Linked DNA regions of Homo sapiens: all the other regions are linked to region 4. The links are contacts of gene promoters, found by promoter capture Hi-C in blood cells and fetal thymus (Javierre and others, 2016). All regions are on one chromosome and are shown on one strand. Each heading gives the region's core, a stretch centred on a gene start or on the middle of the fragment in contact. The rest is flanking DNA. Distances are from core to core; before and after follow the strand shown. Region 1 overlaps RUNX1T1 (RUNX1 partner transcriptional co-repressor 1). Region 2 overlaps RUNX1T1 (RUNX1 partner transcriptional co-repressor 1). Region 3 overlaps RUNX1T1 (RUNX1 partner transcriptional co-repressor 1). Region 4 holds the start of LINC02906 (long intergenic non-protein coding RNA 2906).

Region 1 (3,407 bases), core at 775-3,274, 1.2 Mb before region 4:
TTTATTTTTTAAAGTGTTTTCAAAGATGGGAACAATTTTACAAATAAAAAAGTGGAATTGTGCCAAATACAGAAACAGATGTTTTGGATCGTGAAGCTGCTGGGAATTGAGCCTTCTTGCATAGTATTGTCTGGTTCTGATCCAGGAGTTAAGGGGTCTGGCTAGTTTTACCTCTAGTTTCATTCTCAAGTTGTTTGATACTATTCATTTACCACCCACCACTGGGACAAAAGAAAAAACAACCTTCAGCTGTAGGAAGTTACAAAAAGAGCAATTTTAATGATCTGGTTAAAAAAAAATCTGCAAATTTTTATTTCTCTTGACATTGCATTGCAGTGAATGTGTAGGGAACTTTAGTGAGTGTTCAACTAACAAACGCTCCAATGCGCATATTCATTCTTAAAAGCTCATTAGAAAACTGAAAGAGCAATTTCTATTAATATATTTCTCTTGGATGCTCTAGTGAATTTACTGTTGGCTAATCCATACCTGCAAGACTGATGCCTGATCAGTGGCACTCAGCCCCTGAATAGTCACAATTCTGGAAACAGCGGAAGGTGCAGAATCTTTTGAGTACTCCAATTTGGATCATTCTAAGCTTTCTACTGTTCACAAAGGTGGAAATTGCAAACTGTGTCTAACAGCCACGTGTCTATCCACAAGGGCTGGGATAAAGGCAGTCAATGGCTTAATCTAATTTTACATTTTGCAGTTTGTGCATTTTATATTCAAGATACTATTTCCTGATAATTGTTTTATTTATTTATTTTTAAATGACTGAGCTTCCCTTTCAGGCCTCTAAGGAGTGATGTCACTGAAATTACCATAATAGTGTAGAAAGCTCACGGATATCCATATCACAGCAAATTTCATTCCCAAAGCTCATGGCACTTTATAGTATTCCTTTATTTGTGATAATGTTATTCCCTTTTTGGCATAAAGAATATTTTCCTCCCTATCTGAAAAGTAAGAATAAGTCAATTGACCAAAGTTAGGTTGTGACTCAGATGAAGAATTTGTGGCTGAACACGAACCTCCCCTTTGCTAAATATACTAAATACAAGGCTATATACAGAATCAATGGACTGAAGCTTTTGAATGCCAACACTGCATACTGAAGGTATTCGACACTTTGTTTCAAATCAGCATTTCTCTTTGTCCCTAAGAAAAACATTTAGAGAATGATCTTTCTGTCGTACAGGCATATATCCCTTCTGGTTCTTACTGCAGAAAAATCTTTTTCTGAAGGACAAAATATCTTTTATTTTGTCTCTGAACTGCTTTAAGTCTCTCCAGGTCTTACATATCTATAATTCTTCAGAAAAACTTGCACAAAATCGATGTGTAATAAATTTAAATATAATAGAATGATTGTAATTGAAACTCCTCAAATGTTAAGAATCCTACAGAAGGCAACACATTGACTTAAATTCACATTAAGATTGCATCATCATCTACTTGCATTGCACTTGACAATTTAAAATCATTTTCACATGATTGCAGTTTCAGAAACTGGGACCCTCAAAATAAATAATTTTCACAGTAAAAGGCTTGCCCCAAGTCACAAAAATATAAAATTACATAGCCAAAGTTTGATTCACCCAGATGTTTGGATTACAAATTAAAAATATTCTTTCTAAAATGCCACACTTTGTCAACTTCAGATCTTTTATTAGCTCTCATTGTGGCAAGAACAGGTTAGCAGGCACTTAACTCCCAAAAATGGACAGAAATTGAACCATAAAGTCAGAGGCAGCAAAGACAAGGTGTCAGAGTGTGTAATGAAAATGGCACAGGCTTCAAAAGCCAGGCCAACTTCATTTCATTTCCAACTTCATCACTTTGTGGCTTTAGAACCACAAGCCACTTACTTAACCCTTGGAGCAACAGAACATGTAAAGCAGGAATAATAACTGCAGGATTATTCAGGGTTATGTCAGTGCTAAGCACAGTGCATGATGTTCATAGGTCCTGAATAAATGGCAGGTACTACCACCACTCCCTCCTTTTGGTACTGACTGGAAGAAAGAGAGAGTAGATACAGTCCTTGCTCCAGATCCAGCACCTTACAACCTTTAGAATTAGAAGGCTGATGGTCCCATTCAAATTAAGTGCTATCACCCATGGGCACTGACAGCTACAGGAGAAGAACATTAACTTACTTCTCCTCATACTTCATTAGTGACTAATAATTTCTTCCGCAACTTCATTTGCTGTCCTCAAAATTTCTGAAGATTTACCATTGCTGATTACTTCCCCGTTCTTCCTTATTAAATGCCTCTTGTTGAAATTTCCCCTACTAAAATTCTCTTTCTTATACAATAACTTCTTCTGCTGTTTGTTCTTTTCCCTGTAGTTGACAGTGAGGGAGGGAGGGATGCTGGCATAAAGAAAAGGAATATCTTTTCCTTCTCATGCTGCCCCTTGTGAGATCTTGTGGTTTCAATGATCAGCTGTAAGCAAATTACTCTCAAACCTGTTTCTCCTTGTTATCTTCTTCCTGAGCTTTGTGCTCCTATTTCAACTGCCTGTTCTGTAGGTACCTCCACCAGGATGCTCCTCTAAGTCAGTATTCCCTAAACCCAACTCTGGTGGGTCCATTTCAGTCTTTGGCAACACTCATGCCCAAGACTTTGTCACTTTATTGCAAACCCCTCTTTCTTTAGCCCCTGGAACCATTCAGTGCCAAACCCCACAGACTACTTCTGTGGTCTCTCTCCTTTTCAATCGCATAGTCACTACTCTAATTCTCTCGCCACCCTTCCTGTTAGGATCATTTCTTAACTGTTTTTCTTCTCCGTTTTCCTCTTTCGTTCTTACATAGACACACTGCTCATTTGTAAGGTGACTTTTCTTTTAATAAAATACTTCTCCTCATCTCATTGGCACCTCTCCACCACCTTGCAAAGCAGGCAGATCACAGAAACGTTATCCCAAATTTTGCAGATGAGAAAACCAAAGCTTCAAGAGGTGAGCAACCAAAGGTCAATCCTAGCCCAGTGCCCTGTCTACTATACCATGAACATCTACGGAATCAAACAGCTGGCATATATATATATATTTATAAAATATATATATATAATTGTACATATTGTATATTGTATAACTATATATATATATATATGTAACATAGCATCATAGCTCATGCTCTGAGAGCTCCAAATTTTTCTGGGAATCAACTGGTCTGATGAGATTGTGAAGGCTTTGACAGGACCCATGCTGTGAGGTCCCTATGTTTTATTCAGAGTCTACACAGGTGGCATTTCCAGTTTGGGCCAAACTTCACAGATTCCACTGAGGTTGGTATAACTGTGCAGCTCTGCACCTATATAAGAATGATAAATAAAGGCTGTTTTAATCTGGGGGAAAAACATCACTTTGGTAGTTTAAAACTCTAAACTATTAGA
Region 2 (3,233 bases), core at 635-3,134, 1.1 Mb before region 4:
GCAGCAGGCTGATACATAAATAAACACGCACATGCCTGAGGATACACATAACACTTATGGCAGAGCTACTTACGCTGTGCATAATAGATCACGATGATGCCAGCTCCATCACAAGGCGCACCAGGCTAATGCAATTATTTAAATTATTATATATGTTTTACTGGAGTGGTAAACAAATATATAAAATATTGACATTACTTCCATGTGATATGCAAAACAAGTTTTTAAAATAATTCCCACCAAAATCTTCCCTGCAAAGCCCAATCTCTATTCTTTGCAAAGGACAGAATCAATTCCTTGGAGCTGTGCTTATGCACTAGGCAAAGGTATATACTGCTCTCTTTACATGCCCATAACTCCTATTAACATTAATGGGAGGCACATATGTGCATCTAAAGGGTAAATGCCCTTCAGTCTGCATGACAGAATCCTAATGAAGTAGTTGGAAAAACCAAATCACTGCACATGTAGTCACACTTTCCCCTGCCTTTGCAGGAAACACCACCACCACCACCTTTGTTTCCCAACCCACAGCAAAGACATTTCATCAGCCCACTGTGTGGACAGATTTCCTCTTGGTAAGATAAAATCCTCTTATATTCATGGGATCTCCCAAATGGCTCCATCTCCAAGCACTTCTCAGAATATTTATCCCATGTTACCCTCAAATTGGCCACACATTACTGTGCAAATATTATTTCTCACCACCTCCAGCTTCGTCAAAGAGTATGGCCCTTCCCACAGCAAATGTCAAAGACCATATTCCAATTCCAAGAAAAGGAAAAAACATTCAAGTGCAAAAGTTCTATCACCTTTTTTTAAAAGTGGACTATTCTATTTTCATGGGCAGATGAAGATTCCAAAACCGCCTCATAAAAGCAATCTCTGAGCTACTAGCTCCACACCAGACTACTAATGAGTCTGACTGGAAAAGAGCAACACACATAGGACACTATATAATGGGAACTCAGAAAATAAGAACCCAACAAACTAAGGCCAGCCCTCTACTGGTTAACGTCTGTTGCTGCTGAAACAGATTGTTTCATAGCAAGGCCAGAAGTGTAAAATAGAGCCAAATTCTTAGATCTTTTTTTTTTTTAATCAAGCATGTCTGTCAGTGTGGTCCACAAGGGGAGAGCAGGGGACACAGCATTGGCAGGAACCTCAAATTCCTGACCAAACCCTCTTCCACACAATGCCTCCCGAAAGAAAGGAACCCAGGGTTTGAGCCAGCCTGACGCTGGCGGACAGACAGGGCTGGCCTTGCAGGATGTCAGAGCGCCAGGCGGCTGTGAGAGATACTGGGTTTTCACACACTCCCAGCCTGACTGTTTTGCTCTTCAGGTAATTAAACAAGGAAGCAGGGCTGCTGGGTATGAGCCTGACCCCGAAGCTGCGGCTCCATGGTTCTGCATATCAACTTCCGCAAGAACTGCCCGGAGCATCAACAGAACATTCTCCTCTCACTCTCTCTCATTTCCTTCTCCACCTCTTCCTAAAGCTGACCCAGAAACAAGTCCTGCCTATAAAAACATCCAGAGAAAGGTCTGATTTTATTTGTCATAAAAATCTCTATGCTATTCCCAGTCATTACCCTCCAAATTTTAAAAAACAAAAAAGTACCTTAATGGCAGAAACTTCATAAAAATTCATATACAGCAAATCTGTGTAAAACGCTGGTATCTTAATCAAGATGGATCAAAGAAAATTGTACTCAAATAATTATAATTTTTAACATGCTTGATTAAAGTGTAAATCTTCAAATTCAAAGAAGGCTCACCAAGAAATAAATGATTTTGATAGTCCAGTTTACAAATTAAACATTTGTTGTGTTACATAATTAACATTGTTATTTTAAATTTTGATAGTGGTAATTAATGTAAGCAAATACCATCTATGATCTGGTTTATTATGTTTCACCAAAAATTTTATTTAAACAAAACTCTAAAATATTTTGTGTGTGCAAAGTCACCAAACTCAGGAATATCAAACATATCCTTTAAAAGATAAGAAAGTGGTATATTTATATACATATATATAATTAAACAATGATTAGAATCATATAAATGATATACTCTTCTTTCATCTCAAAATCCATACAGTAAAATATTGGCTGAAAGAGACAGAGACCAAAAGAGAGAAGAATACAAAAGCATGCCTGCTTGTCTGTGTTCAACACAAAGAACATTAAATGAAAACAACTGGCATGCTGCCAAATTCCTATAGAGGCAAAGAGATTCAAATAAATTGATTTCACGCATCACACTGACCTGGGATCAGTGTGCAGTGCTACAATAAGCTCAAAGCTCCATGTGGGGTAAAGCCCATTAATGCTATCAGACCCCTCAAACATGACCAAGAAAAACTAAAAATAAGAGCAGATACTCTCTAAAAGCAGCAATTTTACTTAATAAAATAACTTTCCTCTTCCTAACAAAGATACCAATATATAAAGGTGCACAGCATCATCTATATCAGCATTTTAAAAATACCTCTTTTTCAAAATACAAATGTGGCTTTTGAAACCCACACAATATGTAAAAATTGATACTACCTATATATCCCATTCCATGATATGCATGAACATAAACAGGCACTCTTTGCAAAAAAAGTTTCCTGTCATTCTTTCCTCCCAAGCTGCTTCCTCTTACATCTTTTAGAAAACATATGGATCTTTTTAATATGTCAAATACTACACCCTTCTTAGAATTGTCCTCAATGGCTTATGATAGCAAGCTCCTCAGGCCAGACTACCACTCCTAGGTGTCCCAAATCTGTCTGGTCCCTACAATGGCAGGCATTACAGGAGAACGGCTCCAAATGGCATTCTAGAGGACCAAGCACTGTGTGTACCTTGGGTATGCTTTAAAACACCAGGTGGGAAACACAACAGCGTTCTCATTTTACCAGCTTCCACCCAAGCTGGTGGCATACCCCTTTAGTATCATTTCCCACCCTCCTGCCCCCCAGCCTCTGCCCTAACAGAGGCCCATCTCCAGGAGACCCCAGCCTGCTTCAAACTTGCTACGCAGACCAGACTCTCTGGCGCCACCTCAGGCCATTCTCACTCACAATGCCGACTGTTCAGCCATGGATAGTCCTTTGCTTTATCTGCTTCTAAATTACAACTCCAAAACTCTAAGAGCCCAATGGATTCCAGGTGTTCTAAAATGTAAAGTATGTGATTTCTGTTTTCCCAACTTCTTGAGTTTGAACCCCATATTTCTATACAC
Region 3 (3,391 bases), core at 581-3,080, 1.1 Mb before region 4:
CATTTTCTAAATTTCCCAAGTGAAGCGAGTCCAAACTTTGAGACCGGGGGTATGGTGAATGCCTGGCTAAACACAAGCAACCCCATCCACCTCAGCCCCTAGCCCCTCACTCCCACCCCTAGGCGCTGAGTTCATCATCTTGTCCAGTAACTATGAGGCGAAAGCATAAAGGCAATTTTCCTTGGACAAGACCCAGACTCTTTAGTTCCCTCCTCACTACATAAACAGATTTATTCCTACATCATTCACCTCTGAAAAAGGAATCGTAAAAACAAAAATTTCAGATAATCATCTAAGATTTAGGATAGCTATGGAAAGAATGGCTCCCTAGTCCATAATGGCTCTTCTTTATGATGGAGAAGACTGGAATGATAGTAATATTCCACACTGATCCCTTTCCCAGTTAGATGAAGATTTATAGTGTCACCCACCCCAATCCCTGAATTTAAAAAAAAAAAAAAAAAAAAAAAAGCATTTTTTTTTCACTCTCCTAACCCTGGGAAAGCCCCAAAGCCTACTTTCAGTATCACACAGAGACTTGTCCGTATGAGAGTTGGGAAGCCTAAGAATCACCAAGTCTGCCCTTCGCCTTCTGAGAAATTTGCCTGAGGGCTGGAATGCACCCCAGGCCACCCAGCAAGTCAGTGATTGAACTGGAAAGGGAACTTCAGTTTGCCTATTAGTCAAGCGACTGCACACAGACACCAGGTCCTTTTTTTTTTTTTTCTAATACGGAGAAAGCTTTACACTATGAAACTAGTTACAAACTCTTTTTTTCCAGCAGTAAAGGTGGTGTACAAGTCCTCTAACCTTATCTTAAGAGGTAACCAGGAAGTTGAACCTGGCCAACTGGGAAATGCTGAGATCAAGATATAATGGAGTGACCAACTACGAAAGGAACAAGACTCAAGAACTAAGGACTGGGCAGAAAATCACTCCAGCATACTGGATAAGTTCAACAACAACAACAACAAAAACAGATTAAATCCTCATGGCCTCAGTGCAGTGTAGAATGAAGGTATTCTGATGCAGGAACAGAATTTGGTAATAGAGAAGCCTGGATCAGGTGGTACTGAGGAATATAGACTAGCACACACTTGTGAGTATCCAAGGATATGTCAGCTAGAAGCCAACTCTGATTCCTAAGTGGGGGTGAAGAGGGGATAACTGAAAGAAAACAATGGATGAGTAGAAATGGCCACTGAAGAGAATATGCAGCCAATTTTTCAGAGAATAAGGTCCTAAATAATTACTAAAGCTCAGGCACAAAGTAAGTCATTAATTTGGGGAATACGAAGAAACCTCAATTTTCTAAATTGGGGCAAAAGATCAAGCCAGAAGAGTAACTATGGCAAGAGTCTCAGAGCAATGGGCTGGAGTTCTTTGAAATGAAGAAAGTGAAACACTGGTTAATCAATTACTTAAAATCAGTGATGAGAATGTATGTGAAGGTTGGTGAAGGACAGGCTCATAGTAGGTCTCTAGTATTTATCAATTCCTCTCCTCTCTCCCAAGACCAACAACTAAGTAGCAGCCCTCAAGAGCCCTGAGCACACTTAGAAGTGGTCTGTGCCCCAGGTGTTAAAAGATTAATGAACCCAGTCAATCACATTCCCCAAGGCACTTAGAGGTGCTTAGATTGCTGGAGACACAACGGGAAAACTTCACATTTGTGCCCTCTGCATTCCTCTTCTACAAGATCTATATTCTAAAGGCCCTATTCATCCAAATAGTGATTTGCTTTAGAGGCCTTGATCGATATGAAACCGACCAAAACAAATGCCTGCTTTATTCCTTCATGAATTACTTTATAAAGGTAATCACAATTAGAACTATTAAAGGAGATGATTTTAAGTTGGTATCTCTTGGTCCTTGAAAATATTAGTAGTTGTAGGCAACATTGACAGTTTTAAGCTCTTTCAAACAAGCAGGTCTTACACTTTAAACATCAACCATGGGACATTACTTTACCAGTAGTTCTGATGTAAGAGCCTGGACATGATTTCATCAAGTATCAACATTTCAAAAAGAGGCACAGGAATCTCCCCTGTTGGTGTCATGTAAGGTACCGTGGCTTCAAAAACAACTCTCATTAGAAGATCACATCCCAAGTGAAGGGATTATGTCTGTGAATAAACTTTTTGTACACTGATATGTGATTCAGCATCTTTTCTTAAAAGTGTCAGAAACTGGTGCTATATTGGAGGAAATAGCCGCATGATGCCCAGCTCTCTTTAAGATATGCCAGCATGACATGCCATACTGAACTGTTCTTTGGGCTTGAAACTGGAAACTGCATTCCTTAAAAGCATACTTCTTTGGTTGGTTCCATACATGTAATCGCAAATACTCACATTCAACATTGTTCTTCAAACTACCTCTTCTTTTGAGTTGGTGTTTTAGAAGAAACACTGCATTTGTTAATATCAAACATGCTAAGGTGTCACTGTGCCTGCCTTCCCCTTTATACATTCCTGAAATATTTTGAGTTTATCTGTGAAGAGTGTGTCTAGCAATTCACATGTGAAGCCACAAACTCAGCTAATTGATCCTCAGCAGTGATCAGGTCTCACCCCAGACAAATTACTATAGCCACAAGCCCACCAAACTGCAATCCAAGGTTGAGTCAGTATTGAACCTCATCCAAATTTCACCAGTCTTCCTTCCTTCTAGTTTAATTCTCTCTGCCCATGTTTTATATGGATAGCGTTGCCATTCACTTTCTTGTTATAAGGACGCAGTATTATTTTTATTATGATTATTTAAGACATCTTAAGAGTTTCCTTTTTAATTAAAATTAGATAATTTTAAAAGAACATGTCTTTCCTAGCAATGTCACTAGTAAAATGCATCCAATTTTTCTCTATGTGGTGCTTTCCCTGTCCATAAAACTTATTTGATTAGCAGTACTATAGAAGCTAAAGCTTTTGTATGCAGGCACTCAAGCATAATTTAATCATTTTATTTAAGCATGGAAAAGATTATTCTGAAAGCCCTGTTAGTAAAATATCCCTGATTAGTTTAAACTTACATTTGCAGGTATATTAAAGGTAAAATAAATCTCGGAATGCTCAGTATGCAAGAACAGTGTTAACTTTGTTACAACAGTCCGGCAGTAAGTTAAAAATTGTAGTATTAGAGAATGTAAGGAATAACTATCTGATTTTCAATACATGTATTTAAACAGGTTATTTTAAAATAAATTTTGTTTTGTGTGAACCCCTTTTTATTACCAGGATTTTCACCTATGGAAACCTCTTTTATAGTCAAACAAGATGAGGTCTTAATTGCATACTACCATTTATCTGCTGAGGATAAAAGTGCCAACAAATGAAAATGCACATTAGGCAAGAGATTGTCAGAATAGAAAATTTTTTTTTTATTTTTTTGT
Region 4 (3,434 bases), core at 197-2,696:
ACTCTAAATGGCAGTGAACAAAAGCCAGGCTGGGCATATTTATGTAGAAATAATGAGGCATATAAATGCAACTCAGTGAAAGCCATGCACATCTTATCTGCATTTGTTCATCAACACACCCATTTGTGTGGAAGGTTACTAAAAAAGACATACTCTTTATAACATTTGTGAGGAAAATTAAAATCATCTTGCAATTGGTCCTCCTCTTTGGTTTGAAATTGTTCCTTCTGAATACCTCCATTCTGATTCAAGATGCTAGCAGAGTGCCTGGCACACAGTAGGAAGATCATAAATATTTGTTAAATAATGTCCATGCCTCCATGTTACATTCTCGTCTGGAAGGACTACTGGCTACACTTGAGTATGTTTAATTTTAACTTTGATTTCAAAGAATCTGTTGATGATTGTCTACATTTACAATCAATGTTGGACAGATTTTATTTACTAGGGGGCAAAAGGGAAAAGGAGAGAAATCTCTCTATTTCTGCCAGCTAACCAAAGTGGGGCAAAGAATGTAATAGATAACTCCTTCTTTCAGAATGGGTCAGTAGAGAGGAAAATCAAAAGAAAAAGCTATAAAGGTGTATTTTACATTCTCTTTTCCCATTCCTTCTTTCATTTTTTTTTTTTTTTTTTTTTTGGAGATGGAGTCTTGCCCTGTCGCCCAGGCTGGAGTGCGGTGGTGCAATCTCGTCTCACTGCAAGCTCCGTCTCCCAGGTTCACACCATTCTCCTGCCTCAGCGTCCCGAGTAGCTGGGACTACAGGCGCCCGCCACCACGCCCAGCTAATTTTTTGTACTTTTAGTAGAGACAGGGTTTCACCGTGTTAGCCAGGATGGTCTCGATCTCCTGACCTCGTGATCCGCCCGCCTCAGCCTCCCAAAGTGCTAGGATTACAGGCGTGACCTACTGCACCCCGCCCTCTCTTCCCATTCTTTATGGCTGAATCATTATCTTTTAGGATGTCAGGAAGCTGATTGTTTCAATTACTCTGATAAAAGAAGGCAAAGAGGAAAAGAAACAACAAAACTCTCCTCTCTTCCTTTTATACCCTTGCTAATGACAAACATTTCCACATGGGCTCTTACAGAATCTTAAGTCCTGATTACATCTGAACTAGAGCTGAATGGATAACATAGTTAAGTTGCTATTATTTTAAAAAGTTACTTGTATTTGCTCTTAAGTACTGGGTAGTCAGAAACCTGCCATTTTATGAATATTGACAATGTGATAAAGGGACAATTCCTCCAAAATAAGTCACAGAGTCCTGAGCATCTTGGAGGGGAAAATGTGGGTGTTTTTGGTGGGTAGAAAATGGATACTTACTTGTCTTTGGAGATCGGGTTCTCTTTGGAGTTCGCATGCTGCTGGATGAATGCTGTCAAAGTCCTGGCCCATGCTTGCTTGCCCTCTAAATCCTCTGCCCTAGCTTCTTGTTGCTTTGATTTTATGTTCTCTCTACTCACATGACTATTTGTCCAGCAGAGAAGCTAAGGATTTGCTAACTGTGAAGAAAAAGATTATGTGTTTCACAACACTGCAAGCCTCGAAACCACAGAAGCAGTGAGCAAGCTAACATTTATTCTAAAGATAAACATGAAATCCAGGTAAAGAAACAAAGCACAATTTATTATCCTATTGATCACTAAGAGACTAATGTCTTTTCCTTTCCTAAAGACATTTATCCAATAAGCTTTGTATACACCACAGCAACAATCTGTAACCCATTACAGAAGTGTCACTAACATAGCGTTAATTACCACAGTATGTGACTTGGAAATGGTATCTTGAGTAAAGTGGGATATTTGGTCCACAGCCCAACATCAGGGTCTTTTTTGTCTCCAGCTTGAGGCCATTCTCCACCTCTGGGTCAGGAAATAGGATATTCTAAGGAGTTAAGAAGTAGGTTCCTGATGTTTCTTCCTTTCCTTTCTCAGTTTATACCTCCAGGTCAACACTCTCATCTGATCTCAGAAGAATTCATCATTTTTTGAGGACCTACTTTGTGCTAGGAACTTTATGTAAATGTGTTCTTTTAGTCTTTATCACTCTGTAATATGTTAGTGTACTCATTTATCGGTGTAATTCTATGTATATAACTCAATAAACTGATAATACAAAAAGAACTTTTAAATTGGTATGCCCACCTCACCAAAGCTCTTTTTATTTAGTCATGAAATTTCATAACTAAAGGAAGTTCACAAATTGAAGACTAAAGATTAAATAACACAGGTAATAAATGACACACAGCATTACCATTAATTGCACAGAGCCACCTTTGCAGCCACTCCTGTGGGAGGTTATTTGTAATTACATTGTATGCTAGACCTGTATGTGAAGTGAACAGACTTTTTCTCACCATCCTGGTCAAAAATATTTTATTTAATACCAGATCTAAATACAGACTATTTTGCTAGATACTAGAGAAGTTTTAAGGCTTTTGTCTAATATGTGAGAACACAAGTCTTTCTCATTTTAGATCAAGCTATTACCTCTCTTCAATTTGCATGTTAGCTTTTAAGAGCACTCTTGGAAATCATAAACGTACCCAGGCACTCTGCCACCATCTACTTTGGTCTGTAGCATGATGGAAAGGAGGGTGAGAATAGGGAAAGTGGATAGATGAGAATCAAAATAGATGATGCTCTATTCTAAATAAATTAGGGAGAAAGAGAATGTAAGAAGAAATTTTAAAAAGTGAAAGGTTAATACTGATAATAATAATAATATCTAATCTGTCAGAGTTTACTATGCAGACACAGTGCTAAATGAGTTATACACATTATTCATTTAAATCCTCAGGATAATCCCTTCATTTAGGTGCTATGATGATCCCCAAATTGCTAATGAGACAGCTGAGGTTTAAAAAAGTTAGTATCTAATCCAAACTAGCTAGTAGATGACATCTGGATTCCAACCCAGAATGCTTGCACCAGTGCTTGCACCTCTAATCATTATGTGTCAGGAAGCAGAAGGAGATAAACAGAACCAGCAATTACTTCATGGAAAGAGCAAATATAAGCCTGTGTTCCTAATGCCACTGGCATACTACAGAATTAGGAGCCAGTATTCAGGAGGGGGCTGATCCAGGCAACTGTCCCATTTGTTGTTTTTGCAGTCATGTTGATTGTCTCTCCCTCTCTCTCTCAGGTTAAATATTCATATTAGTGGAGAAAGAATGGGCTAGACAATAAACAGTTTTGGAGCAAAAGAAAAATTTAGCCAACTTCTTATCGAAGTATAGCATGCATACAGAAAAGCAACGATTAGATGTTTAGTTCAATGAGTTTTCACAAAGTGAACATACCCCTGCGTAACAATTCCCGTGTAATACCAGAGACACCAAGAAACAAAACTTAGCTAGTCCTCCAGCAGTCACTCTCATCCCAATCACGAATGCCCCTAAGGTGTAACCACTAATCTGATTTTAAAA

The links. The method cuts DNA at HindIII sites, captures the fragments that hold promoters and counts their contacts. A CHiCAGO score of 5 or more calls a contact.
Region 1: a contact is called between a fragment that was not itself captured here and the fragment with the promoter of LINC02906 in region 4, in 1 of 17 cell types (M0 macrophages). The highest score is 5.2, in M0 macrophages.
Region 2: a fragment that was not itself captured here is called in contact with the fragment with the promoter of LINC02906 in region 4 in 1 of 17 cell types (M0 macrophages); the score reaches 5.8 in M0 macrophages.
Region 3: a contact is called between a fragment that was not itself captured here and the fragment with the promoter of LINC02906 in region 4, in 1 of 17 cell types (M2 macrophages). The highest score is 5.9, in M2 macrophages.

Annotation. Positions count from the first base shown.
Region 1 is chr8:91,963,057-91,966,463 of GRCh38, forward strand. The region is part of intron 11 of RUNX1T1 (RUNX1 partner transcriptional co-repressor 1); the gene reads right to left. Among named protein-coding and RNA genes, the nearest start is that of RUNX1T1, 140 kb to the right of the region's middle. The HindIII fragment of the contact is 1,870 bases long and covers 1,090-2,959 here.
Region 2 is chr8:92,070,412-92,073,644 of GRCh38, forward strand. The region is part of intron 2 of RUNX1T1 (RUNX1 partner transcriptional co-repressor 1); the gene reads right to left. Among named protein-coding and RNA genes, the nearest start is that of RUNX1T1, 31 kb to the right of the region's middle. RefSeq lists an enhancer at 1,292-1,791. The HindIII fragment of the contact is 4,222 bases long and covers 1-3,233 here.
Region 3 is chr8:92,089,479-92,092,869 of GRCh38, forward strand. All of the region lies in intron 1 of RUNX1T1 (RUNX1 partner transcriptional co-repressor 1), which reads right to left. Among named protein-coding and RNA genes, the nearest start is that of RUNX1T1, 12 kb to the right of the region's middle. The HindIII fragment of the contact is 2,183 bases long and covers 740-2,922 here.
Region 4 is chr8:93,165,404-93,168,837 of GRCh38, forward strand. LINC02906 (long intergenic non-protein coding RNA 2906) reads right to left here and starts at 1,447. Exons shown (of 3, transcript NR_161372.1): 1 at 1,328-1,447. LOC105375644 (a long non-coding RNA gene) reads left to right here. Exons shown (of 5, transcript XR_928417.1): 4 at 1,487-1,608. The HindIII fragment of the contact is 1,956 bases long and covers 1-1,692 here.